7 separate regions of the Homo sapiens genome follow, and all the other regions are linked to region 2. Evidence: promoter capture Hi-C in 16 types of primary human blood cells and fetal thymus (Javierre and others, 2016). All regions are on one chromosome and are shown on one strand. The core of a region is centred on a gene start or on the middle of the fragment in contact, and the rest is flanking DNA. Distances in the headings are between cores, read along the strand shown. Region 1 overlaps LOC107984198 (a long non-coding RNA gene). Region 2 holds the start of UCN3 (urocortin 3). Region 3 has its middle 38 kb from the start of AKR1C1. Region 4 has its middle 9.8 kb from the start of AKR1C1. Region 5 has its middle 36 kb from the start of AKR1E2. Region 6 has its middle 56 kb from the start of AKR1E2. Region 7 has its middle 61 kb from the start of AKR1C1.

Region 1 (3,806 bases), core at 997-3,496, 280 kb after region 2:
CACGATTCACCATATAAACATACTTAAAAGCAAAAAAAAAATGATCATCCCAACAGATGCCGAGTTTTGATAAAATGCAACATAAAACCTTTATGATAAAAACTCTCAGTAAACTAGACATCAAGGGAACATGACTCAAAATAATAAGGGACATCTAGGACAAATTAACAGCCAATGTCATATTGCATGGAGAAAACTTGAAAACCTTTCCCCTAAGAACTGGAACAAGACAAGGATGTCCACTCCACCACTCCTATTCAACACAAAATTGGAAGTACTATTCATGGCAATCAGGTAAAGAAAATAAATAAAAGGCATTTAAGTAGCAAAAATAAAAGTCAGATTATTTTTGTTTGCTGATGACAGGATTATATACCTAGAAAACCCTAAAGGTTCCTCAAAAAGACTCCTAGATTTAATAAACAACCTCAGTAAAGTTTCAAGAGGAGTGGACCAAGGAGCAGAAGCTCAATCTAGACAGTAAAACTCCCTCTATTTAAGGCAGAATCATCCAGAGAATTGCTAGAATGGAGAATGTTTTTTCCTCTTATGATAAAGTACAATGATCCTTCTAAGACAAACAGAATGCATCATGCAAGTAGGTTTAGGGTGAATGCCATGTAGCTTCTACTTCTCTCTTGCAACTTGGAGATATTAGAAAAAACACTGACAGAAAGAAGCAAGAAATCAGGAGCTCACTGGTTTCTTCTTCTGTCCTCTTCCCCATGGGGCTGAGGGCTCCTGATGAGTGATCAAATGCTAGGAGAGGATGAATGGTACCACATTATTACCAGTGCCCAGGACAGATGCTAAGCTGGGCAGTGATGTTTTGCAGAGAAGCCTCAGGGGAGAGACACAGGAGAGGGAAGAAAATGGGGAGTAATGCTGCCTTTGAATTCACACCTAGAAAGGAGGCAGAATCAGGATTAGTGAACAATATTCAGGATTTTGCTTAGTTGGTTGGCTTTATGGGAGTCCTGAGAATGTTGGCTGGTGCCAAAGTTGAACGATGTACTGAGAGAAACAGCCTTCCCTGAGTAAAGTAAAATTATGTCATTAACCACAAAATATATTTCTTATATACAATGATTGTTTTTCAGAGACTCTCAAAACAAGTGCTTATTTTGGAGGAATATTTTTATTCATGTGAAAGCAAGTTTTTGGTCAATGCAAGCATTTTGGCCACATAAGTCAATGGCCACTGCGGCCCAACTGTCCCTCAGAACAAATGTGTTTAATGAAGGTGACACCATCCTTATAAAATCAATAAAACTGAATGAATGTCTAGGTTTTTAGCAAAATCAAAGCTTTTGAGTTGAAGGGTAGTTAAACATTAACCAGCTATGCCCCACAGGCCACTTTCTTATAGCTGCTTATAGCTTATAGCCTGTATTACAAGGCCCTAACTTCTATAGATAACTTCTGTAATGTGAAGAAGTTTCAAATTTTCCATATTTTCCAGATCCTGCATTCCAACAGATCCACTGATACCATCCTGTGTAAATACCCACTTTAAGGAACTGATTTGATCCTAGAATGCACTTACTATATCTTTATGTTTTCATCCCCCACACCCTAACTAATCAGTAACCCCCCCACTCCTCAGCCCTCTATCTGCCAAAAGTCCCTTGAAAACCCCATTCTAAAACTCCTTGGGGCAGTGAATTTGAGGTTGCGTCCTACCTCCTCCTTTGGCCGTCATTTGATCATTCAACTCTTTGTCAGTGGCAACTCCCGCTATTTTGGTGTGTTGGTTTGTTACTACACAGTGAGCACAAACATGGTGGTCCAATACAGAGGCTCTTCCTGTCAGGTGTCAACCAGAAAGTTCATCTAACACTACGAAGAAAGTGAGACACAGATAGTGGCTTCCTTAAGATCCTTCCATCCTTCCTAAACACTACACATTCAATGGCAGGCTCTGTGAAATCTTTGTTTGTTTGTTTGTTTGTTTGTTTGAGACGGAGTCTCAGTCTGTCACCCAGGCTGGAGTGGTGCAGTGGTACAATCTCAGCTTACTGCAACCTGCACCTCCTGGGTTCAAACAATTCTTCTGCCTCAGCCTCATGAGTAGCTGGGACTAGAGGTGCATGCCACCATGCCCAGCTAATTTTTGTATTTTTATTAAACATGGGGTTTCACCATGTTGGCCAGGCTGGTCATGAACTCCTGGCCTCAAGCAATCCACTTGCCTTAGCCTTCCAACATGCTGGGATTACAGACATTAGCTACCGCACCCAGCCAGGCTCTGAGAAATCTTATAATTACAAAACTAAAGGTGATAATTATGCAAGTAAGTATACTTGCACAAGGAAAGATTTTTTTCTCAACACGATTTTTAACATTTTCACACACTCATTCACATTCCCATACAGTGTTTCCCATCTCCACATCTTAAGATGTTCTTACTCCACATCTTAACCAGACGCTCTTACCGGCCTATGTCCGGACATGGGCAGTGAGAGGGAAGGAAAGAAAAAAGACAAAGATCTTGGCACTGATGGACCTCAGTTATGTAAATACCAGTATAGAGGCCGTGCACAATTCCTTCATTGCCATTGTCCAGGTCATGTTTGCTCATTCCCTGACTCTGATTCATTATTTCGCTTTAACTTTTCTGCTTTGCATACCATGCAGATACCCCTGCAGGTGCAAAGAAAATTTTCTTTCCTCGCCCTTCTGAAGTTTTGGTGACTTGATTACATAAGATACACTGACAATGGAATAATTAACATAAAATGCATATAAATTCATATACATGTACATGGAGCAGCAAATATGAGACTCCAAGCAGGACCAGATGATTGAAGATTTCCTCACATCCTGAGGCTACAGAGAGAATAGGGGCTTGGGGTCTCTCGGGGAGGTGGGGTCTCAGGTAATGGGGGAGAGAGAGAGGTATGCTTGGTGAGCCAAGGCTGTCCCCACACAGATGTGAGTCTCTCAGGGGCTCCCCAAGCTGCCCTCAGGAAGATAGACAGTGGCCTATGGAGAAGTTTCTCAGTCAGACCTTTAAAGCATTAGGATCTCAGTCTGTTTTTCCTGGGAGTTAATCTTTCCTTGATCCAATTAGGCAGATAAGGTGGGGGTGGGGTGTGCCTCAGAGAAATGCTTTTCTCCTCTGTTCACTTCACTAACGTGTATTTCCTCAGCACTTGCAAATCTCTGCCAGAGAAGAAAGCTTTTCAGGGCTATTTCTGTGTCTGCAGCCTCTCTGAATTGTAGCCCCTCTTAACAGCAAGATCAAAATATACCAAAAAAGTACATTTTGAGTGGCACATTTTGTTTTATTGCACCCTGTATGACAAGTCTTAAAAGCTAAGAGTGCACCATGAGCTCCTCAGTTGGGGGCCCCACTCCTGCCTCCTGGGAAGGCAGATACCACCCTCAGACACACTGGACAAGAGCATCAATAAATGAAATGATTTTAAAACAAATAGCTCCATTTTATGTGCCTATTTCCAACCACCTGGCACAAAAGTAAAACACCTGTGCAACTCAGAACAAGTACAATGATCCAGGCTGGCTACTGGAAGGTCTAGCATGCCATCCAAGTCCTCTAGTCATGGTAAGTCAGCAAGACTCACAAGGAGACTGGAGTTAACACTATCGAGACACCTTTACATGAACACGTCTAGTGAGTGTTAATGCCTTAAAGAAGGTGGAGGAGAAATGTCTGCACCCAACAGCAGAAGGGCCTGTTCTACTCATCACTGCAGACCAGGCATCTGAAGCTCTTCTTGTCTTATTTAACCTTGAGGCAAATAGTCCCTTGCTTCAATGGCAAATATTTTCAACTTACCATG
Region 2 (4,192 bases), core at 1,223-3,722:
TCAATTTATTTTCCAAAGCAAAACAACCTCTTTTAAATTCTTTCATGGATGTACATTCTCTCTGCAAATCATGTTGTTACGTATCACAGAGGAAAAAATCTTTTATATGGCATACTTTTTTGGTTTTGTTTTTTAATTATGAAATCATACATGTGTACCTAGAGTCACTTGAAAGATGAGGGCTTCTGAACATGAAACAGCCTCGTCTAAGTAACTTTCTGCAATTTTCCTGTGAAAAAGTTCAGGTTTTCCCTTGCAATGGGCTAGCCTCTGGATGTGTTCCCTGGAAGTGCTACCTGTCTCATCTCAGTTACAAAAGCAAGGCATTGGGGAGAGGGAGTGAGATCCCTTTTACCTCTATATTTACTTTTTCACATTTTTGGGGTCAATTTGTAAATACTGTGCCTTTTAAAAAATGCATTACCTTCTTATTTTTCAAATCCCAAGTCTACCATCAGAGAAGAATACTGTAATCACGGCTAGGGTGCTGAAGGTGTGGAAAAATCTGTGAAAGTGTCAGGGAGCAAGTGTCCTGCGTGGCGCTCTGTTCTTGGTGCATCTGCAGGTAGCAGACCTTTCTCTCTCTGCAAACCCTCAGCTCTAGCCTGCACACGGTTGTGAGGGTATTGAAAGGTGTCCCCTTACCATCAGCAATGATGCAAAGTTACACAGCAAAGGAACCTCCCAGAACTGTGAATTGGACATGATAGGGACGCCCGGTGCTGAGCTTAGTTTTAGATCGTTTAAAATGTAAGGGTTCTTTGCAACCCTGGATGGTTTCACCATCAAAGTGTGTGAGTGGCTGGGGGCTGGAAGGTAGATTCAGATTTCTTTCCAGGACTTTTCTTTTTAGGATCTGTTTAGATTTGTTTAGGGTTTATAGGATAAAAGAAAAGGAACTCTCCCCAAAGAAGAAAAGATACTCTGTACTTCCCACATAAAGTCTAATTTTGCAAGTTTCTCCTTTTACATTCCTTGGACTCTTCTGCCATATTCTTGGTGAAACAGCACAAAAGTTTAAGATTTCTCTGCAGTCTGCCACGAAAATAACTGGGCACCATCTAGTTATTAATACATTTGAGGGGCAAAGCTCTACACCTGTATTTTTCTCTGGGTGCCTGAAACTCAACCATTCCTTTGGGCTATGGTGACAGTAGCACTTGTCGAGGATGCTGTAAAGAGACACAGTTACTTCTGGGAGCTGTGGCAGAGCCAAGCACTGAAACGTGAGGGACCTGGGTCAGCCTCCAATTCCCAGCACCTCACAGGGAGAGGACAGGACATGAAGCAGCAAAGGCAGGAGGCAAACAGTACTGATCACACATCTCTGCCAAGTGCAGAGCTATTCCTGTGGGCTCCGTTTGTCTGCAAACACTGATAAGAAGTTAAACTGAAACTAGACCACTTAAAACGTTTTAAAAATCTCACATTTGTTATTTTTGGTAGGTGGCTATGCTTGGGAAAGAAATTGCGAACAGGAATTTTCAGAAAACATAAACATCAAACATCCATCTCCCCTTCACAGGTAGGAGTTAGCCATTGTAGGTATCTGCACACACCCCCGCAATGTTCCTAGTGTGGCAAAGGGCTCTGGGCTTTGGTGGCAGAGGACCTGGCTGGGGAAACTCCCTTGCCTCTGACTTTTCTTGGGTGAATCCCTTAACCTGCATTTCACTTGCCGCGTCCTAGGAAGGAGACGTTACCTGCTTCACAGGTGTGCCCGAGAGTGACGGGAGATGGCACAGGTGAAGGTTTGTGGCACAGGTAAACAGTAAGTGCAGGTGTCCTCGCTGCTTTGCAGGCGGCGTGGAGTCATGTCCTGTGGCTCCCATTAGCCCCGGCATCCCTACCCCATCCCCATTTGTAAACTGTCTCCGAGGACTGACTTTCCTGTGCACAGCTGTGCTCTGTTCAGAGAAAACAGATTTGTGTGAACACCTTCTGCCTCTGATCTAACACCTTTGGAAAGAGGGTCTCTCTATACCAACGTGGGAATGTGATTGTGCCTCCCTGAGAAACTTCCCCTGGTCCCTTTGGGGCTGATTTCTGCTGATTGGGTGGGGGGCGTTCAGCATCGCTCCCTTGGGCTTCCACCCAGGGGCGCTAGCAGCTCTCATCTCTCACACCTGTCTAGTGCATGGCACCTCCTGCTTAAATTAGGGCAGATACATTTACCCTTCATAAGTCAGTCCCAGCCACAAGCTTACCCGAGAGTGGACTTCCCTCCGCAGCGAAACGCTCAGGGAGGCCGGCGCAGCTTCAGGGCCAGGAGGGCGGCCCCGTGCACGTCCCCATGAACTTGTGGCTGCTCCGGGGTCTCGGCTCCTGCTTCTCCGGTATTGTTCCTAAGTGGGCTGTGATATTCCCTCTCTATGGAAACGGTCCCCTCCCCTGTGTGTATATAAAAGTGACAGATCACAGGGTGGATCGTAATTCCAGACGTGGTGTCTACGCTGGGATGAGATTTCATTTAAAATACAACCAGAACCAGCCGTCCACGTCATGCAGACGACAGGTGCTCCAACCTCGACCCCTCCCACCTCTGCTTCCCACCCCGCCCTTCTACCCCCCAACTCCTTTTGCATCCTAGCAACTTGCTTCATTGATAAAAGCAAAGAACAAAAAAGAAAAAGAAGAAATAAAAACTCAAAACAAAACAAAACAAAAATCCTGGTAAAGTGAGAAGCAGTGTCTTTGAAGAATTTTATTGCTGATCTTAGTTCTAACTAATTTCAGTTTCCCCCACATTCCCCTTGCCCTAACTCTCCTTCTGTAAATGTAGAGCCTGGACCTGCTTTGAAAGCAGAGAAGGGGTTTAAAATCCACCTGTTGCCGTGTTGTTTTGTGGGTTCTGACCGTGCAGCGTCATCTGGCCGCACACGTAGCCCCTTGTGCTTGTCACACACTCGGTGCCTACTCCCCACATAAAGTCTAATTATGCAAGTTTCTCCTTTCACATTCCTTGGGCTCTTCTGCCGTACCCTCAGTGAAACAACACGAAAGTTTAAGATTTCTCTGCAGCCTGCCGCGAAAATGACTGAGCACCATCTATTTGTTAATACGTTTGAGGGGAAAGCTCTACACCTGCATTTTTCTCTGGATACCTGAAACTCAACCATTCCTTTGGGCTATGACAGCAGGTCATCATACACCAGAGGTCTGGAGGTTTTAGTGGGAAATGGCTTGGATTTTACTCGTTTATGCATCCTATATTTATTGAGGACTTACTGTGTACCAGGTATTGCCAAGACACCCACGAGTTCAGAGATAAGTAAGTTGTGGCCCCTAACCATACAGGGCCTCATGGTTTAGAAAGGTAGGGAAGGCTGGGTGCGGTGGCTTATGCCAGTAATCCCAGCACTGTGGGAGGCCGAGGCGGGCAGATCACGAGGTCAGGAGTTCAAGACTAGCCTGGCCAACATGGTGAAACCCCGGCTCTACTAAGAATACAAAAAAAATTAGCCGGGCATGGTGGCGAGTGCCTGTAATTCCAACTACTCAGGAGGCCAAGGCAAGAGAATCACTTGAACCTGGGAGGTGGGGGTTGCAGTGAGCTGAGATGGCGCCATTGCACTCCAGCCTGGGCAACAGAGTGAGACTCCATCTCAAAAGAAAGAAAGAAAGAAAGGTAGGTAAAAAATGCTACAGAAGAGAGCAGTCCTGTCTACTCAAGACAGGAGAGGAGAGCAGGAGGGGTTTCAGACAGAAAGGATGGATCAGCATGGACTGAGCCAGGGCTGAGAGGAACGGGAGAGAAGGAGGACGATGGGAGGGAGGTGTTGGTGGGTGCAGAGGCTGCTCTGCACTAAGGTGCTCCAAAGGCCTGCGGAGTTGGGAGTTTATTCCATATGTAATGGGGAGATGTGGGAGACTACGGTCTGTTGACCCCTTATTCACAGATGAGGAAGCTGAGGCTGTAAAAAGTGACCTGCTGGGACCCCACAGGCCCAGGGTGACAGAGTCAGGTGAGAACCAGGCCTGACGCTGGGCTCAGTGCTCCTTTCACTGGGCTGAGCTGATGACAAGGGGCCCTGCAAGACCGGCTGGCTGTCCCTAGCCCTCCTCCCAGACGGCTGCTCCACTCTCGTGAATTCCTGCAGGTGAAGAGGTAAGAGGTCTTCTGAAATTACCAAAACTCTTTAAAGCCCATGAGCATTTGGAGGAACAAATGGAAAGCTGTTGTGGGGAAGGA
Region 3 (3,934 bases), core at 89-2,588, 440 kb after region 2:
TGTCTTTGAGTTTCAATTATGTAATTACTTTGTAGGATCTGTGAGATTTGTACTAATGTGCCCTTTTATGATGATGTGTATTGTCCCCTAATTTCCATGTTTAGAATTTCTTTCAGCATTTCTTCTAGGATTGAGCTAATGGTAATGAATTCCCTTAGTAATTGTTTGTCTGGAAAAGAATATTCCTGTATCATTTTGGAAGTTTAGCTTAGCAGCATATAAAATACTTGGCTGCCTTTTGTTCTTTAAGGAGGATGAATATAGGCCTGAAGTATATTCTGGCCCGTAGGGTTTCTGCTGAGAATTCAATTTTAGTCTGATGGGATTTCCTTTACAGGTGATTAAGTGTTTCTCTCTTGCAACTCTTAGAATTTTTTTCTTTATGTTGACTTCAAATAGTCTGATGACTATATGCTGTGGTGAGGTTCATCTTGAAATGTATTTTCCAAGAATTCTGTGATCTTCTTGCATCTGAATGTCTAAATGTTTCCCAATACCAGGGAAGGTTTTCTGAAGTATATCCTCCGAAGCGTTTTCCATACTTTTTAGTTCTTTTTCTTCTCACTCTGGAATACTTACATTTCTGAGGGATGGTCACTTCATAAAATTCCCTATTTCTCAAAGACTTTGTGGATTTTTTAAAATTAATTTTTCTATATTAATGTCTGATTGAGTTAATTTCAAAGACTTGTCTTCCAGCTCTAAAATTCTTTCTTCCTCTTGGTCTAGCCTATTGTTAAAGCTTTCAACTGTATTTCACAATTCCTTCAATGAATTTTTTTATTTCCAGAAGTTCTGATTCTTTTTTAAATGATGTCAATATATTCTTCCATATTCTGAATTGTTTTTTTCTGATTTCTATGTGTTAGTTTTCAGCTTTCTGTTTGGTCTCATTGAGTTTCTATAACTCAATATTTTGAATTATTTATCTGGTATTTCAAAATTTCATTTAAGTTAGGATCTATTGCTGGAGAGTTAATGTGTGATCCTTTGAGGGTGTTAAACAGTCTGTTTTTTCATACTTTCAGAGTTGTTTCCTGTTTTTTTCTCAATTGCATAAACTATTTTACCCTGTTATGTTTTGCATTTGCTTTTTTTGGATGTCGAGCTTATCAGGGAGTTTATCTTATTCCCTAGTGCAGTGGGCTTGCATCAGCAGATGTCTTTTTGTGTTGAGTGATTCAAGTTCCAGGCCAGTAGATGGTTCTATGGGAAAGAACTGGCTATGGCTGATACAGATGTGTATATATTGGATCCCTGTTAACTGAGAGAAGCTATCTGTGTAATAAGACATTGATCTGACCTGTGGAAGGCACAGCCATCTAATCTTCCTGCTTAGCCAAGTAGAAGGCCCGCTTACAGGTTACACAATGGCAGACACAAGCACCAGCAGGAGGAAGAAGTTTCGGCGGGCAGATATCAAGTTCCTAGAGGTATGCCGAAGCATGAAGCTGGGAAACCTCTGCTCTTCACCCAGTTTAACAGAGGTTATTTGGGTTGTTGTTGTTGTTGAGTTTCTTAGAATTTTTTTTTTCTTTTTGAGACAGAGTCTTGCTCTGTCGCCCAGGCTGGAGTGCAGTGGCACAATCTCAGCTCACTGCAGCCTGCACCTCCCAGGTACAAGCAATTCTCGTGCCTCAGCCTGCCAAGTACCTGGGATTATAGCCATGAGCCACCCCCCTGGCTAATTTTTGTATTTTTAGTAGTGATGGGATCTCGCCATGTTGACCAGGTTGGTCTTGAACTCCTGACCTCAGGTGATCCACAAACATCAGCCTCCCAAAGTGCTGGGATTACAGACATGAGCCACCACGCCTGGCCATAAATTTTTGATATGAGTTTTCTATTGGATTTACAGTTTGTAAATATTTTCTTCCATTTTGTAGGTTGTCTGTTCACCCTTTTGATTATTTCTTTTGATTTACAGAAGCTTATTTGTTTTATTAAGCCATATATGTCTGTTTTTATTCTCTTGTTTGTGTTCTTGAGGTCATACTCTTGAATTATTTCCCTAAATTTAGTTATTACTTTTTCCCCAAAGAATTTAGAATTTTCCTTACATTTTCTGATAGCAGTTTATAGTTTCAGTTCTTACATTTAAAACTTTAATTTATTTTGAGTTGTTTTAAAACTTTGCAAAGCAATTTGGAAATATAGGCAATATTGGAAATGTCTAACTTTTGTGAAAAACATCAATTTCATATTATGGTTTTAGGGGTCAGGATTGTAATCTCATCAACATGTGATTTACTGCAAAAGGTCTGTTTAGGTCACTCATGTTAATTTCCTTGCCCTTGGCATGTGGTTGCAGTGGGAAGAGAGCTGCTGTGACCCAGTCCTAGCCAATGCCACATAAGAGGGACTATGCTAGGGGCTTCTAGGAAGGATTCCTCACTTCTAGGAAGAAATTTTTAAAATAAGGTGGCCTTTCTTCTGCAAGTAGCTATTGTCCTGCTGCAGTGTGAGTTCAAAAATTGCTTCAGCAGCCTCCACCCACCCTGAAGATAACATCAATACACAGAAGAAGAAGAGCTGGAGAAGATGAGAGTGTCTGTGTGTGTGCCTGTGTGTGTATGTGTGTGCACCTGTGTGTGTGTGCACCTGTGTGTATGTGTGCCTGTGTGTGTGTGTGCCTGTGTGTATATGTGTTTGTGTGCACCTGTGTGTGTGTGCACCTGTGTGTATGTGTGCCTGTGTGTGTGTGTGCCTGTGTGTATATGTGTTTGTGTGCTAGTGTGTATGTGTATGCAAGTGTGTGCATGTGTGTGTGCCTGTGTGCATGACTCCATGTAAGTGTGTGTACCTGTGTGTGTGTGTGATTGTCTGTGCCCTAGGATTGTTGGAATGGTAAATGAGCATCATATCTAGGAATAAGATAACCACAGAGGGGAAATATCACTACCATGAGAATTACAATTACAAAACACTGCTCAAAGGAAATCAGAGACGAGAAAAACAAATGGAAAAACATTCCATGCTCATGGATAAGAAGAATTAATACTGTTAAAGTGGCCATACTGCCCAAAGCAATTTACAGATTTAATGCTATTCCCATCAAACTATCAATGACATTCTTCACAGAACTAGAAAAAAACACTATGTTAAAATTTATAAGGAACCAAAAAGACTCTAATAGTCAAGGCAGAACAAAGGTGGAGGCATTACATTACCCAACTTCAAACTATATTGAAAGGCTACAGTAACAAAAACAGCATGAGACTTGTACAGAAACAGACACATGGATCAATGGAACAAAATAGAGAGCCCAGAAGTAATGCTGCACAACTACAATAATCTGATTTCTGTCAATTAATAAAAACAAGCACTGGGGAAGGGACACTCTATTCAAGTGATTGGTACCTGGGTGACAAAATAATCTCCACACCAAACCCCCATGACATGCAATTTACAAATCTGCACATGTACCCTGAACCTAAAACAAAAGATAAAAAAAAGACTGCAATCTAGCATTGATGGACAGTAAGGCAATGTAACTACTGTCTTTACCGATTTCAGGTGTTTCTATCTATTGGGAGACTGCCTTTCAAATGCTTTAAGGTTTTAGGAGTCATGGATGGTCACCGATGTAATGAGGGAAAAGAGAAGTTATGTAACTGCTGACACTGGAGATTTTAAGAATAGAGATGATGAGATAATGTGTGAAAAACATAACCACAATGGCATATCATAAGAACTCAAAAACTGGTAGATACCATTGTTGATATTTTATTAATATAGAGGAAAATAAAAAATAAAAAGGAAATTATTAAATAAAAGGAAGAATAGCAAGCATCTGTAATTCTTACCACCAATGAAATATCTAACGATAAGCAGGCATTTATTTGTCCCTTTATTTTTTGCATTATGTCTACATAGACATTTTTAGTGCATTGTATTTTCTTGGATATTGGACCCTGGATCATATACAACAATT
Region 4 (4,244 bases), core at 88-2,587, 410 kb after region 2:
TGAAAAATTGATATTTTCAAAAAGTTAGACATTTGCAACCTTGCTTATGCCTCAAAATAGCTTTGCAAGCTTTTAAAACAACTGGAAATAAATCAGTCTTAAATGTAAGACCTGAGACTATCAAGTGCTAGAAGAAAATCTAAGGAAAACTTATTGGGGCAAAAAATTCTTAAGTAGGTCCTGGCAAGGAACTCAGACTAAGATTTCAAAAACACAAATGAGAGAATAGGAAGAGACGCATATGACTTAATTAAACCAATAAGCTTCTGTAAAGGCAAAAAAAAATAAAATAAAATCAACAGAGAACAGACAACCTATACAATGGGGGAAAATAATTGCAAATTGTGAATCTAACAGGGGACTGATATCCAGAATTTATAAGGAACTCAACCCAACAACAATAATTACAACAAAACCCAAATAACCTCTTTAAAATTCATCAAAGAGCAGAGGTTTCCCAACTCCATGCCTAGGCACACCTATAGGCACTTGATATCTGCCCACTGGATCCTCCGTCTTCCACTGGTGGAGACTCAGAAGGCTGGGAGGCTGGGAAATTTTTGGGTAAGTACAATGGACATTATTCAGGTGATAGCTACACTAAAAGCCCAGACCTCACCACTGTGCAATATATCTATGTAGCAAACTGCACTTGTAAACTTTAATTTTATACAAATCCAAAAACAAAATAAAGGAAACATAGTGATACCTAAACTTTTCTACAGATCAAATGAATAAGAATCTCTGGTGTAGGATTTTAGCTTTTGGCTAGATGATCTACAAAAATACAATCAGGGCAATTTGTTCTGGCTATAAGCAGATTGATCCAGTTTGTTTGCTATAAGCACAGATCAATAGGTACAAGGACAAGAGACCCCAACCAGCAGAAAACCTAAAGGAGAAATTTAGAGAGAATGAGTGTAGTCTGAGGATTTCAATTTACTTTATTATGTAAGCAAATCTGAATATGTAAACTTGTGTGGAGATTGAAAGAATGGAAAGAGGAAACACGAGAGACCCAATGACCGAAACCCTTAATGAATTTGGAAAGAGGAAACATGAGAGACCCAATGACCGAAACCCTTAATGAATTAAGAACTTGATGAACTGATGTGTAGTGAAAATCGAAGCGTAAGAGGCTTCATTAGTATGAAGTGTGTTAAAGTTAAAGGTTCATAGAGCAGTTATAAGTACTTCTTTGTCTGTATAAGTTATAGCATAGAAGTAGTTGCCTGAAGTATAATCTAAGTATGAGTAGAAACTTTCAGTTGTTGAGAATGTAAAGAACAGCAATGCTGGAGTTCTCTGCATGTACAGTGAAAAAAGATATTCACAAATCCTGGGAGAAATGGTAAACTAAGGGAATAAAGGGACTATGACTAGAAGGGGACATATGATAGGGTATAAATGATATCAGAGCTAAGGAACAGGTTTTTATTTCATTATATCTGAGATGAAATCTAGATTTTTCAGGACCTAGTGGCTGGTGATATAGTACTTTCTATTAGCAAGGCTAGAAAATTAAGGCTTACTTGCTTCAAGTTCTCCACAAAGCTAGTACAGTAGGCTCAATACTGCTCCCTCCCCCTGCCCTGCCAATAACTCATGCCTTTATCTTTGGAAGCTGTGACTATGTTACCTGACCTGGCAAAACAAACTTTGCAGATGTGATTATGTTAAGGATCCTAAGATAGAAGCGTTTCCTGAATCATCTGGATAGGCAATGTCATCTCAAAATCCTTACAAGTGGCACCCAGGAGGGCCACAATCAAAGAGGATGTGTAAGGAAAGACGCATAGGACAGAGATCCTAAGATGCCATGTAGTTGGCTTTCAAGATAGAATAAGTGCCATGAGCCAAGGAACACATTCTCTGGAACCTGGAATGGCCCAGAATAGCATTTTCCCCTAGACCCTCAAGAAGAAATACAACCTTGTGGACACCCTGACTTTAGCCTGTTGAACCAGATTTTGGAATTCTGATTCCAAATTCATTGGAATTTGAGAAAATTATGATGTTTCATAATTGATGAACTGTGAGAAAATTAATTATGGTGTTTCAGGCCACAACATTTGTGATATTTTTTTACAGCAGAAATAGGAAATGAATGCAAACATGATTCAGCAATTCTGATCCTCTCTCTCCTGCATCATCAGTTTTTCTCTTTCTACTAGATTCTTCCTAAGAGCATATAGGCATGCTGTTTTTTCTGCCATCTCAAAGAAAATTGTCATCTCAATTGTCAGGTGTATTTATAACCCATTCTTTGAATACTTTCTACACTTCTGTATCATTCTTCTCTTCCTACACTTTTTTGAATGCACCTCTATTCAGGCTGTTGCCTTTACCAATTTATCAAAATTGGGACAAGGGAGAGGATGTTGAAAATAACTAATGAGTACTAAGCTTAATATCTGGGTAACAAAATAAGCTGTAGAACAAACCCCCATGGCATGAGTTTACCTTTATAAAAAACCTGCACGTGCACCCCTCAACTTAAAATAAAAGTTAAAAATATTGAAAATTAAAAAAGTTTTGGAGACCTAAATTACATTATTTAATTCTAATTCTGAACAATTAACTTATTTAATATTTATGAAACAATTCTGATACTAATTCTGAACAATTACATTATTTAATATTTATGGAAAAGTTAAATTAAAAGAAATACACATAACAGTGTCATGGCTAGCCTTTGACATTCTCTTAAAAAATTAAAGCACAACATACTGAACAATTACATTATTCTAATGTAAGGAAGTGTGTGAAGAGCACAAAGTCAGAAATGGCCCCAGTGGCCCTAAGGGCTCATCTGGTTGTAGATGGGCTTGTACTTGAGTCCTGGCTTGTCTGAGGATCAGTTCCAACAGTTAGTGATTGAAACTGGACACCCTGATGGACTTCATTAAACCTGCATCTCTGCATTTCTCCAGGGCCTAGGAAAGAAGGAAATGGGTGTAGATCTTCAATGTATCTTGGCTTTGTCACTTGTCATTAAACCTTTTCTTTAGTGTGGTAAAATATATATAATATACAATTCATCATTTAACCATTTTGAAACGTATAGTTTATTGGCATTAAGTCCATCCACTTTACTGAGCAAGCATCACCAGTATACGTATACTACAATTTTAATCATCCCAAACTAAAACTCTACTGACTAAACAACAATTTCCCATTTCCCCCTTATTTCATCCTCTGGCAACCACCATTCTACTTCCTGTCTTTGCATTTAATTATTCTAGGCACCTCACATAGTTGGAGTCATACAGTGTTTGTCCTTTTGTGTCTGGCTTATGTAGCTTAGTAAAATGTCCTCAAGGTTCAACCATATTATTGCACGTATCTGAATTTCCTTCCTTTTTAAAACTAAATAATGTCCCTTTGTGTGTAGACACAAAACTCTGTTTATCCTTTCATTTGCTGATGCTCACTTGCATTTTCACCTTTTGATTATTGTGAATAAAATTATTATGAATAAGGTTATCATGAATACTAACATTGCTTCAAAAACATGTTTTAGTTTCTGCTTTTAATTTATTTAGGTATTGTGAGCCCCAAATATCTGAGACATGCCCCAGTCAATTTAGAAATTTAGTTTTCCAAAGCAAAACCTCTCTCCTATTGTCCAGGCTGTCCTCTGCTATGGTTACTGGGCTCGTTTTCAGCACAAAGGTCTCAGTGTTGTGTTATACTTTCCAAGTGAGCCTTCAGGCCTTTTCCTTTTATATATTTTTGCAAGAAAGTTAATGAGGCATCTCATCCGAAATGCATGCTATCATGTGTATATTTTGGCATTGGTTGAACAAGGTGTGTCGGCATCCAAACCACGCCTTCATCAATTAGTTTTCAACCTTTCTTATCTTGAATACATCCTCTGTCCTTGGTAGCCTTTTTATCCTCAAGAGGATACTGGGATTTGAAAGCTGTCAGATCTATTTGGGGAATTAAAGATGCCTGGACCTCAGCACTGCTGTTGGTTGTGTGCCTGGCTGTGCAGTCAGTGAAAGTGTTCCCTCTAGCTAGATTGGAATTCCTGTGCTGATGGCAATGGACAATGCCTAACAGCTATTTCCCTTGGGGTTGTCACCACCTCCAATAGCTCCAACGTGGCTCTGCATATTTAATTTTAGTATTACACATGTTTAGCAGTCCCCTTTCCTTGCAAATAGCTCTGTGTGCATGGACTATCATGAAAGAATATTTGGAATCAGTTTAGATATTGGTTCTCTTCCCTTTGGTCA
Region 5 (3,823 bases), core at 259-2,758, 500 kb after region 2:
GGTTTAGTCTTGGGAGGGTTTATGTGTCGAGGAATTTATCCATTTCTTCTAGATTTTCTAATTTGTTTGCATAGAGGTGTTTACAGTATTCTCTGATGGTAGTTTGTATTTCTGTGGGATCGGTGGTGATATCCCCTTTATCATTTTTTATTGCATCTATTTGATTCTTCTTTCTTTTCTTCTTTATTAGTCTTGCTAGTGGTCTATCAATTTTGTTGATCTTTTCAAAAAACCAGCTCCTGGATTCATTGATTTTTTGAAGGGTTTTTTGTGACTCTATCTCCTTCAGTTCTGCTCTGATCTTAGTTATTTCTTGCCTTCTGCTAGCTTTTGAATGTGTTTGCTCTTGCTTCTCTAGTTCTTTTAATTGTGATGTTAGGGTGTCAATTTTAGATCTTTCCTGCTTTCTCTTGTGGGCATTTAGTGCTATAAATTTCCCTCTACACATTGCTTTAAATGTGTCCCAGAGATTCTGGTATGTTGTGTTTTTGTTCTCGTTGGTTTCAAAGAACATCTTTATTTCTGCCTTCATTTTGTTATGTACCCAGTAGTCATTCAGGAGCAGGTTGTTCAGTTTCCATGTAGTTGAGTGGTTTTGAGTGACTTTCTTAATCCTGAGTTCTAGTTTGATTGCACTATGGTCTGAGAGACAGTTTGTTATAATTTCTGTTCTTTTACATTTGCTGAGGAGTGCTTTACTTCCAACTATGTGGTCAGTTTTGGAATAAGTGCGGTGTGGTGCTGAGAAGAATGTATATTCTGTTGATTTGGGGTGGAGAGTTCTGTAGATGTCTATTAGGTCCACTTGGTGCAGAGCTGAGTTCAATTCCTGGATATCCTTGCTAACTTTCTGTCTCGTTGATCTGTCTAATGTTGACAGTGGGGTGTTAAAGTCTCCCATTATTATTGTGTGGGAGTCTAAGTCTCTTTGTAGGTCTCTAAGGACTTGCTTTATGAATCTGGGTGCCCCTACATTGGGTGCATATGTATTTAGGTTAGCTCTTCTTGTTGAATTGATCCCTTTATCATTATGTAATGGCCTTCTTTGTCTCTTTAGATCTTTGTTGGTTTAAAGTCCATTTTATCAGAGACTAGGATTGCAACCCCTGCCTTTTTTTGTTTTCCATTTGCTTGGCAGATCTTCCTCCATCCCTTTATTTTGAGCCTATGTGTGTCTAACGGAGAGCCAAATCATGAGTGAACTCCCATTCACAATTGCTTCAAAGAAAATAAAACACCTAGGAATCCAGCTTACAAGGGATGTGAAGGACCTCTTCAAAGAGAACTACAAACCAGTGCTCAACAAAATAAAAGAGGATACAAACAAATGGAAGAACATTCTATGTGCATGGATAGGAAGAATCAATATCGTGAAAATGGCCATACTGCCCAAGGTAATTTATAGATTCAATGTCATCCTCATCAAGCTACCAATTACTTTCTTCACAGATTTGGAAAAAACTACTTTAAAGTTCATATGGAACCAAAAAAGAGCATGCATTGCCAAGTCAATCCTAAGCCAAAAGAACAAAGCTGGAGGCATCACACTACCTGAATTCAAATTATACTACAAGGCTACAGTAACCAAAACAGCATGGTACTGGTACCAAAACAGAGATATAGACCAATGGAACAGAACAGAGCCCTCAGAAATAATACCACACATCTACAACTATCTGATCTTTGACAAACCTGACAAAAACAAGAAACGGGGAAAGGATTCCCTATTCAACAAATGGTGCTGGGAAAACTGGCTAGCCATATGTAGAAAGCTGAAACTGGATCCCTTCCTTACACCTTATACAAAAACTAATTCAAGATGGATTAAAGACTTAAATGTTAGACCTAAAACCATAAAAACCCTAGAAGAAAACCTAGGCAATACCATTCAGGACATAGGCATGGGCAAGGACTTCATGTCTAAAACACCAAAAACAATGGCAACAAAAGCCAAAATTGACAAATGGGATCTAATTAAACCAAAGAGCTTCTGCACAGCAAAAGAAATTACCATCAGAGTGAACAGGCAACCTACAGAATGGGAGAAAATTTTTGCAATCTACTCATCTGACAAAGGGCTAATATCCAGAATCTACAAAGAACTCCAACAAATTTACAAGAAAAAAACAAACAACCCCATCAAAAAGTGAGTGAAGGAATATATCTTTTAGGCCACACACAAAAAGTTCACTTATCTATGGTAAATTATTTCAAAGAATTTTTGACTATAAAGACATATTGGCCAGGCGCGGTGGTTCATGCCTGTAATCCTAGCACTTTGGGAGACCGAGGCGGGAGGATCACTTGAGGTCAGGAGTTTGAGACCAGCCTGGCCAAAATGGTGAGACCCCATCGCTAATAAAAATACAAAAATTAGCTGGGCGCGGTGGTGCAACTGTAATCCCAGCTGCTTGGTAGGCTAAGGCACAAGAATCGCTTTAACCCAGGAGGCAGAGGTTGCAGTGAGCCAAGATCACGCCATTGCACTCCATCCTGGACAATGGAGTGAGACTCCATCTCAAGAAAAGAAAAAGAAGAAGAAGACATATTGCACATTTTTACTCCCCTCCCAAAAAAATGTTCTATATTTGCTAATGTGCTCTGGGATGATGATTAGTTTTTAGAGTTTTTTTAATTAAATAACACATTAAATCTTCTTTCTTAAGGTTGAAATAGATGTCCGAAAATATTTCTGTCACTGTGAGATTTTGTTGTTAAAATGATAGAAGTGTGGCACCTACAAAAATTTCCTGAACACTTTAAAAGTTTTGGATAGAGTGTTTTAATCTGTTTAAAAATCTTCCAAATAAAATGTTTTGTAAGTTTTGAGCCTGATTGATTACAATTACATACCAAGAGCATATCAGAGGAGATTATAATGTACTGGTCAAATTTCAAAAATTATACAAATGGCAAAGGGGACTGAGAAAACCATACCATGATTTATGAAGAGGACCCAAAGACGGACTTCCCCTATGTGCATCGAAGCATCTCTATGAGGCATCCTTAGCTGCAGTTGACTGCCATGAAAACCGTATTTCAAATTAAACTGAATGTAGAATCCCAAGGTTCACATTTCTAGGTCAAAAAGCATTAAATCAAGAAGGACCAACAAAAAAAGCCAATAAAGCATATTCATACCATTGCTTTGAAAAGAATTTGGTATTAATCACAATATATTAGAGAGAGCACAGAGTTTGGGTTATTAATAAAGCTCTTATTTTTCGATTTTTAAATTTAATCTTCAGATGCTCTAAGAGTATTTAATAATGTATACATCGTATTAGTAAAGCAGTACATTCATATAGTAATAAATCAATAAACATGGATATATTTCTATGCAAATTCAAAAAGCTTTACTGATAGAGGTGCAATCAAAAAAGTTGGCAGCCACTATGAGGTTCCCCTTGTGTGAATCAGACAGGACAACAATGCTGTCCTTGGTCATAAAGGTTCCTCAGAGAGAGTATGAAGAGTCCATCACAACAGCTATCAAAACTGGCTCTTGCCACATAGATTCAGCTTCTGTCTATAAAAACGAAGAAGCAGTTGGATGGGCTATTTGTCAGAAGATTGCAATGGCACCGTGAAGAGAGAAGACATATTCTTGACCTCAAAGGTGCCTAGTGCCCTATGGACTCATCTTCTACCCCCAGCCTCTAACTCATTATTTTAAAAACACAAATCCAATATCATGACTTATCTCTGTAAAGATTTCCTGTCAGTTAAAGTTTAAGTTCACTGGCCTGGAACATGGGGGGATAGTGTAGGCCTTGCCAACTGTTAAATCAGGAACTGGAAAGGATCTGAGGTTTTTGCCCCA
Region 6 (3,822 bases), core at 887-3,386, 480 kb after region 2:
TTATTCGAACTACTTGTAACAATTCTGTAAGTCTGAGAGTATTTTCAAAGAAAAAACTAAAAATCAATATCAAACTGAACCCCTTGATTTAAAAAAAAGGTAAAATTTATGTTATGGATGTTTAACCACAATAAAAAATATAAAGATGTTTTTAAAGTCTACTCAATAAGATAAAGCCACTTGAATGGGCAACATATAAACTGCAGTATCCTGGAGGATTGTGAAGGAAGTCACATGACTGTAGGAAGAACTGCCAATCTGTCCGTGCTGGGGAAGACTCACACTTCACCCAGGTGGTCATATCTCTGTGTAAACATCTTACATGCTGACTGAGTAAGGATGATTATCAATTTACAATTGAGTATTAGTAAATCTTCATTTATTTCATCTTTTTGGATAAAAAATACAAATAGGAGTTCTAAAAAGTTTTCTTTTGTGACCCTTAGGAGATTTACCTCCACTTTGGACATAATCAATTTAGAGAAATAAAAAAAAAGGTTTTGAGTTCAATAGTTGATGGAGACCCAAAGGGGAACTTGGACATTACCTTGAACTCTAAAGGGTGAAAGGAATTTGGCCAAGTGAAGGCTGATTGGCTGGGAGGGACTTTACATGGCCTAGGAAGCTTGAGTAGAAGTACAACTGGTTAATTATGTGCAGCAAACTGATCATAGTGAGAAATTAGCTCAGGTGAGGGGTTACAGGGTCCAGGTAGGTTTTAAGCCCTGAGTCTAATGAACTACCCTTCCTTCCCATTTAGTGTCCATGACTAAGCAAACACACATGCAACAGTTCCATAGAAAATTGGTGTGTGCCTGATGACTAACCCAGCCCCTGTAACCCAGTGCAGGACCTTGCCTGCAGGCTGCGTGGGAGAACATGCTTCAAGTGAACCTTAATGAGGTCTCTTGCTTTTCTTTGGATCTCTGTCGATTCCTCTTATCAAATCACTGGAGTCAGGGAACAAAGAGTAAGAAAAATATGCAGCGAAAAGTTCATTTACTAAACTTTTGGTTTCTGGGCTGGTGGATCACAAGCTGGAAAGTCATTACTCACGTCCTCAAATAATGTAAGCAATTCAACAGATGGAAAACTAACAATTAGACTCAACAGATAATTGAGGTCACAGGGCAAAATGCTGCCTCCAAAACTTGGAGGGATAGGCTGATAGAGACATGATCAGTGCCTTGCAGAAGCCAGGAAGCAAAAACCACAGCTGGGGCCAGTGCTGAGTAGGAAAACCTACACTGTTATTAATGAATTGCTGGGAGCTCAATGTGAACAAGTCTGAGAGAGAAAAGCTCCAGGGACATCCATTCTTATGGAGGCCTCCACGCTTTTGTGAATTTTACCTCTAGAGCCTACCAAGTTTTCTCAGTGAATACCAGAGAAAATTTCCCTCATGCTTCCGGCTGGAGGAGCCCAAAGCAGCCATGTTTTCCTAAAAGGGCCTGACCTCAGCAGAAGATATTTTACTAGAGCCTATGCCTGAGGTTTTACTTGAATCTAACCTGAGGGAAAAGAAATACTCAATTCCAGCTGAAAGAATCAATAAAATCTCCTGGAACTCATAAGTGATTATAGAAAGGTTGCAGTATATGAGGTTAATATACAAAAATCAATTGCTTTTCTATATGTCAGCAATGAAAAAGTGGCGTTTACAATTAAAAACACAATGCCATTTATATTAGCACCATACAAAGAAACATTTTGGTATAAATCTAACAAAGTGGGCTGGGTGCGATGGCTCATGCCTGTAATCCCAGCACTTAGGGAGACTGAGGCAGGCAGATCCCTTGAGGTCAGGAGTTCAAGACCAGCTTGGCCAACATGGTGAAACCCCATTTCTACTAAAACTACAAAAATTAGCTGAGCATAGTGGCACGTACTTATAATCCCAGCTACTCAGGAGGCTGAGGCAGGAGAATCGCTTGAACCCAGGAAGCAGAGGTTGCAGTGAGCAGAGATCATGCCACTGCACTCCAGCCTGGGCAATAGAGCAAGACTCTGTCTCAAAAAAACAAAACAAAACAAAAAACCAAAGTATGGACAAGATCTATATGAGGAAAACTTTAAAACGCTGAAGAAGAAATCAAAGAAGATTTAAATAAATGAAAAGACACTATATTTAAATGTGTAGGAAGATGCTATATGAAGGTGTAAGTTCTTTACAATTTGACCTATAGATTCAATGCAATCCCAATGAAATTACCAGTAAGTTATTTTTGGGAATACCAATGATCTAATCTTAAAGTTCACACTGAAAATTAAGAAACCAAGAATAGCCAAAACAATACTGAAGAACAAAGTCAGATAACTAAAACTACCCATCTTTAAGAGATACTATAAAGACAGTGTGGTATTGGTGAAAGAACAGACAAATAGATCAATGGGACAGAACAGAGAGATCCCAGAAATAGGCCCACACAGATACAGTCATCTGATCTTGACAAAGGAGCAAAGCAATTCAATGGAGAAAATAACCTTTTTGACAAATGATGCTGGAAATACTGGACATCCACATTCAAACATTTTAAAAAGGAATTAGACACAGACTTTCCATCCTTCATGAAAATTAACTCAAAATGGATCACAGACCTAAAGGTAAAATACAAAACTATAAAACTCCTAGAATATATAAATGAAAAACTAGAAAACCTTGGGTATGGTGATATAATACCAAGGGCATGATCCAAGAAAGAAAGAATGGATAAGCTGGATTTCATTAAAGTTAACAAATTCTGCTTTGTGAAAGACACTGCCAAGAGAATGAGGAGACAAACCATTTATGGGAGAAAATATTTGCAAAACATATATCTGATAAAAAATTGATTTCCAAATTATACAAAGAAATCTTAAGACTCAAGGTTAAGAAACCATAAGCAACCCAATGTAGAAATGAGCAAAAGATCTGAACAGTTTAACAAAGATATACAGATGGCAAATAATCCAATAAAGTTGCTAAACATCATGTATCACTAGACAATCATAAATTAATTACTGCACACTTATTAGAATGGGCAAACTCCAAAGCACTGACAACACCAACCACTGATGAGAATATAGGGAAACTGAAACTCTTCTTAATTGCTGGTGAAAATGATGTAGGATTTTTCTTTTTGGTCACTTTACAAGTCAAAGATCCCCAGCTGGTGATGCCCCACCTGGGCCTCACTCGGCCATGCTGGTGTGCCCTAGCTTGCCTATATTATAGCTTGTACCTGTGTTTGGTGGTTCTTGAGCTCTTGTACCGCACCCAAGAAGAATGAGAATATGCTGGACATTGAAGGGTGTGGAGGGAGGAGAAGAATTTCATTAAGCGAGGAAAATGGCTTTCAGCAGAGATGGGATGCAGTGTTGTTCCCCCTACCCAAAGGCAGGAAAGTCCTCCCATGTGGTTGGGTCTGGGGCTTTTATGGACTCAGAAGGGGGAGTGCATGCTGATTGGTTTGTGAGTATGCAAAAAAGGTTAAAGTGAAGATACCACTCAAAGGTGGACATGACAGTGTAGAAAACCAATTAGGAAAGGCTAGGTATATGTAAAATAGGTGAAGGATGGGATCAATCACAGGAAAGTGCGACAAACAGGAAGACAAATTCTCAATCTGGTTTGAGGATTTAACTTGTAGTTTGGCTTTCAAGCTTTAAACTGTGCTGGGGTTGGAGGTGGGGTTTCACTGAGGACTCACCCCTATCTGCCTAGGCATTTGGCTGCATCCTGCCACTCTCAAAAATACAAAATGATACAGCCACTTTGGAAGACAGTTTGGCAATTTCTTACAAAACTATGCATACTCTCACCACATGATCCAGCAGTCAGCA
Region 7 (4,235 bases), core at 22-2,521, 460 kb after region 2:
TTAAGGTGAGGAACAAGACAAGGATGCCTGCCTTCATCACTACTATTTAACATTGTAATGGATATTCTGGCTGGAGCTATCAGACAAGAAAGAGAAGTAAAAGGAATCCTCTCTTCACAGACGATATGACCCTACATGTAGAAAATCTCAAATAATTCATAAGAAATCTTCTAGAGTTAATAAATAAATTCTGCAGAGTTGCAGAGTATAAGATCAACACACAAAAAAATCAGTTGTGTTTCCATACACCAACAATGAACAACTCAAAAGGAAATTTTTTAATAGGTACAGAGTTTTTGCTAAGAATGACAAAAATGTTTTGGGTATAGAAATGGTGATGGTCACACAACATTGTGAATGCATTTAATGCCACTGGATTATATGTTTATGAATAGTTACAATAATAAATATTACATTGTATGTATGTGATCATAATTTTAAAATAAGAATTTATAGAAAAATAACTACAGATATAATAATACCCACTAACTATACAGAACTATGGCCCACAAGCCTAACGTGCTGCCCAGTTTTGTATAGCCCATGAGCCAAAAATGGTTTGTATATTTTTTAGCGATTGAAAATGTAAGAGATTTATATTATTTCATGCCATGTAAAATTACATGAATTAAAACTTTCAGTGTTCATGAATAAAGCTTTATTGAAATATCCCCAAAAAGACCAGCTGAAATTGCTGAACTTGGATAATTGATTAATTGATATTGTTTCTCAGCAGGTCCTATGTAGGGAAAAGAAAGAGAGATCAGATTGTTACTGTGTTTATGTAGAAAAGGAAGACATATCAAACTCCATTTTGATCTGTTCTAAGAAAAATTGTTTCTGCTTTGAGATGCTGTTAACCTGTAACTGTAGCCCCAACCCTGTGCTCACAGAAACATGTGCTGTATTGAATCAAAGTTTAATGGATTTAGGGCTGTGCAGGATGTGCCTTGTTAACAATATGTTTGCAGGCAGTATGCTTGGTAAAAGTCATCGCCATTCTCCATTCTCGATTAACCAGGGACACCATGCACTGCAGAAGGCTGCAGGGACCTCTGCCCAAGAAAGCCTAGGTACTGTCCAAGGTTTCCCCCCACTGAGACAGACTGAGATATGGCCTCGTGGGAAAGGAAAGACCTGACAGTCCCCCAGCCCGACATCCCACCCATAAAGGGTCTGTGCTGAGGAGGAGTAGTGAAAGAGAGAGGCCTCTTTGCAGTTGAGATAAGAGGAAGGCTTCTGTCTCCTGTTCGTCCCTGGGAATGGAATGTCTAGGTGTAAAGCAGACCAATCCCATTGGTTCTATTCTGAGACAGGAGAAAACCGCCCTGTGGCTGGAGTCGAGATATGCTGGCAGCAATACTGCTCTGTTACTCTTTTCTACGCTGAGATGTTTGGGTAAAGAGAAACATAAATCTAGCCTACGTGCACATCCAGGCACAGTACCTTTCCTTGAACTTATTCATGATACCGATTCCTTTGCTCACATGTTTCCCTGCTGACCTTCTCCCCACCTGTTGCCCTGCTACACTCCCCTCGCTAAGATAGTAAAAATAATGATCAATAAATACTGAGGGAACTCAGAGTCTGGTGCCGGTGCGGGTCCTTCGTATGCTGAGCGCTGGTCCCCTCGGCCCACAGTTCTTTCTCTGTACTTTGTCTCTGTGTCTTATTTCTTTTCTCAGTCTCTCCTCCCACCTGAATCGAAATACCCACAGGTGTGGAGGGGCTGGCCCCCTTCAGTCCTAAGCGTGAGTCCCTTTCCCAGGATGAGTCAATCCCAAGGCCACAATCATCAGGCCGAGTGAGCTCTCTTTCACACAAAGGCACTTCTTTCCACACAGTTAAACAAATGTCTGTGCCTTTTGACTTTCTCATAAGCTTTAGTCGTTTCTCAAACTTGTGTGTCCTGAGTTGATATGCATTTTAGAGTTTCCATTTATTGGTGTTTGAAAACTGGTACTTTCCACTGGAGTGCTTAACCTTTATTTTGTATGATGACTGATTGAACTGATTATTCTTGTACTTGTCACACTTTCAACACTGCTTGGCTTGCTTTCAAGTTTCTGCTTCCGAAACCAGAAAGAAGTACATGTTGTTCATTCTCTAATCTGAAACTCATATGAAAGAAAAAAAAGTGCTCGTACATATAATCTTCCCTAACTTATTAAAATCAGTAACGAATTAAACATTTTGTTCACCTCTTTTTATATTCTAGCTACCTTCTCCAAACTTTATATGAATTTGCTTTTTTCAGCATAATTATTAATTCATGGCTTTTTATAGACTCCACTTTTCCAAATAACAATGTTAACACTATTTTCATTTTTAAATGTCACAGTGAGTCTAATAGGATTCCTTCAGTGAGCAGCTTTGCCCTTTCAGAATCATTGCTAGCAGCCTTCAAAACCAACCTTGCTTTCTGGACATAACACAATATTCTGATTTGTCCTTATTTTGCCTGCTTTAAGACAAAAAACAGTTATACTACAAGAAGACAAAATTCTTTTAGAGGGAAATAGATCAAACAAATTTTGGTCATTAGTGTTGCACATGAAAATAACTGGTGGGGGGTGGGTGTGGTGGCTCACGCCTGTAATCCCAGCACTTTGGGAGGCTGAGGTGGGTGGATCCTGAGGTCAGGAGTTTGAGACCAGCCTGGCCAAGATGGTGAAACCCCGTTTCTACCGAAAACACAAAAATTAGCTGGGCATGATGGCACGTGCCTGTAATCCCAGCTACTCCGGAGGCTGAGGCAGGAGAATCGCTTGAACCCGGGAGGTGGAGGTCGTGGTGAGCCAAGATCACGCCACTGCACTCTAGCCTGGGCAACAGAGCAAGACTCCATCTCAACACACAAGAAAGAACTGGTGGGGTAAAAGTACTACTGGGCTGGAAGATGTGTTTTTTATTTTTTTATTATTATTTTTATTTTTTGAGACAGAGTCTCCCTCTGTCACCAGGCTGGAGTACAGTGGCAAGATCTTGACTCAGTGCAACCTCTGCCTCCTGGGTTCAAGCGATTCTCCTGCCTCAGCCTCCCAAGTAGGTGGGGTTACAGTCACATGTCACTACACTTGGCTAATTTCTATTTTTAGTGGAGATGAGGTTTCACGTTATTGGCCAGGCTGGTCTTGAACTCCTGACCTCAACTGATCCACCCGTCTTGGCCTGCCAAAGTGCTGGGATTACAGGTGTGAGCCACCGCACCCAGCCTGGAAGATGTTATTTTGAAGATATGAGTTCACATCATTTTTCGAATTTAACATATGCTGTTTTTTAGAGTGTGAGGTGTTATGTGCCACTAATACTTTCCACTAATACTTTCTACTATGTTGATAGTTACTTGATTAAGACAGTTGTCTAAAAAAAGGTAAAATCAATGGAAGGAATCAGCAGGCAAATCTAAGAGTTACTGGGCTTAAAGATGAGGTAGAGAAAGAAAGAGAGATAGAAAGTTTATTCAAAGGGATGGCAGAGAACTTCCCAAACCCAGAGAAAGATATCAATATTCAAATACAAGAAGGTTATAGAACACCAAGGAAATTTAACCCAAATAAGAGTACTTCAGGCCATTTAATAATCGAACTTTCAAAGATCAAAGATAAAGAAAGGATCCTAAAAGCAGCAAAAGAGAGAGAGAGAGAGAGAAAAAAAACACATACAATGGAGCTCCAATACATCTGGCAGCAGACTTTTCAATAGAAACCTTACAGGCCGGGAGAGAGTGGCATGACATATTTAAAGTGCTGAAGAAAAATATCTTTTACCCTAGAATAGCATATCCAGTGAAAATATCTTTCAAACATGAAGGAAAAATAAAGACTTTCCCAGATAAACAAAAGCTGAGGGATTTCATCAATGCCAGGCCTGTCCTACAAGAAATGCTAAAGGGAGCACTTCAATCAGAAAGAAAAGGACATTAATGAGAAATAAGAAATCATCTGAATGTACAGAACTCACTGGTAACAGCAAGTACACAGGAAAACAGAGAATATTATAAGACTGTAACCGTGGTGTCTAAACTACTCTAATCCTAAGCAGATAAACTAAATGATGAACCAATCAAAATAATAACAACGTTTCAAGACATAAACAGTACAATATGATATAAATAGAAACAACAAAAAGTTTAAAAGCTGGGGTACGAGTACGAACTTAAGGTGTAAAGTTTTTATTAGTTTTATTTTTGCCAGTTTGTTTGTTTATACAAACACTGTTGTTATCAGCCTAAT

Evidence for each region. The method cuts DNA at HindIII sites, captures the fragments that hold promoters and counts their contacts. A CHiCAGO score of 5 or more calls a contact.
Region 1: a contact is called between a fragment that was not itself captured here and the fragment with the promoter of UCN3 in region 2, in 3 of 17 cell types (M1 macrophages, M0 macrophages and endothelial precursors). The highest score is 6.8, in M1 macrophages.
Region 3: a fragment that was not itself captured here is called in contact with the fragment with the promoter of UCN3 in region 2 in 7 of 17 cell types (M2 macrophages, total CD4 T cells, monocytes and 4 more); the score reaches 7.4 in M2 macrophages.
Region 4: a contact is called between a fragment that was not itself captured here and the fragment with the promoter of UCN3 in region 2, in 2 of 17 cell types (M2 macrophages and M1 macrophages). The highest score is 6.8, in M2 macrophages.
Region 5: a fragment that was not itself captured here is called in contact with the fragment with the promoter of UCN3 in region 2 in 1 of 17 cell types (M1 macrophages); the score reaches 5.0 in M1 macrophages.
Region 6: a contact is called between a fragment that was not itself captured here and the fragment with the promoter of UCN3 in region 2, in 8 of 17 cell types (monocytes, M0 macrophages, M2 macrophages and 5 more). The highest score is 9.9, in monocytes.
Region 7: a fragment that was not itself captured here is called in contact with the fragment with the promoter of UCN3 in region 2 in 3 of 17 cell types (M2 macrophages, M1 macrophages and naive CD4 T cells); the score reaches 7.4 in M2 macrophages.

What each region holds. Positions count from the first base shown.
Region 1 is chr10:5,078,779-5,082,584 of GRCh38, reverse strand. It overlaps LOC107984198 (a long non-coding RNA gene), which reads right to left. Exons shown (of 5, transcript XR_001747341.2): 5 at 1,614-1,839. It also overlaps a transcript of AKR1C3 not described here. Among named protein-coding and RNA genes, the nearest start is that of AKR1C3, 14 kb to the left of the region's middle. The HindIII fragment of the contact is 1,874 bases long and covers 1,310-3,183 here.
Region 2 is chr10:5,363,246-5,367,437 of GRCh38, reverse strand. UCN3 (urocortin 3) reads right to left here and starts at 2,472. Exons shown (of 2, transcript NM_053049.4): 1 at 2,208-2,472. The HindIII fragment of the contact is 8,098 bases long and covers 2,205-4,192 here.
Region 3 is chr10:4,923,428-4,927,361 of GRCh38, reverse strand. No RefSeq gene overlaps it. Among named protein-coding and RNA genes, the nearest start is that of AKR1C1, 38 kb to the left of the region's middle. The HindIII fragment of the contact is 1,188 bases long and covers 745-1,932 here.
Region 4 is chr10:4,951,489-4,955,732 of GRCh38, reverse strand. No RefSeq gene overlaps it. Among named protein-coding and RNA genes, the nearest start is that of AKR1C1, 9.8 kb to the left of the region's middle. The HindIII fragment of the contact is 2,143 bases long and covers 266-2,408 here.
Region 5 is chr10:4,860,086-4,863,908 of GRCh38, reverse strand. It overlaps a transcript of AKR1E2 not described here. Among named protein-coding and RNA genes, the nearest start is that of AKR1E2, 36 kb to the right of the region's middle. The HindIII fragment of the contact is 3,697 bases long and covers 1-3,356 here.
Region 6 is chr10:4,880,504-4,884,325 of GRCh38, reverse strand. It overlaps the pseudogene AKR1C6P. Among named protein-coding and RNA genes, the nearest start is that of AKR1E2, 56 kb to the right of the region's middle. The HindIII fragment of the contact is 3,017 bases long and covers 628-3,644 here.
Region 7 is chr10:4,900,464-4,904,698 of GRCh38, reverse strand. It overlaps the pseudogene AKR1C6P. Among named protein-coding and RNA genes, the nearest start is that of AKR1C1, 61 kb to the left of the region's middle. The HindIII fragment of the contact is 1,225 bases long and covers 659-1,883 here.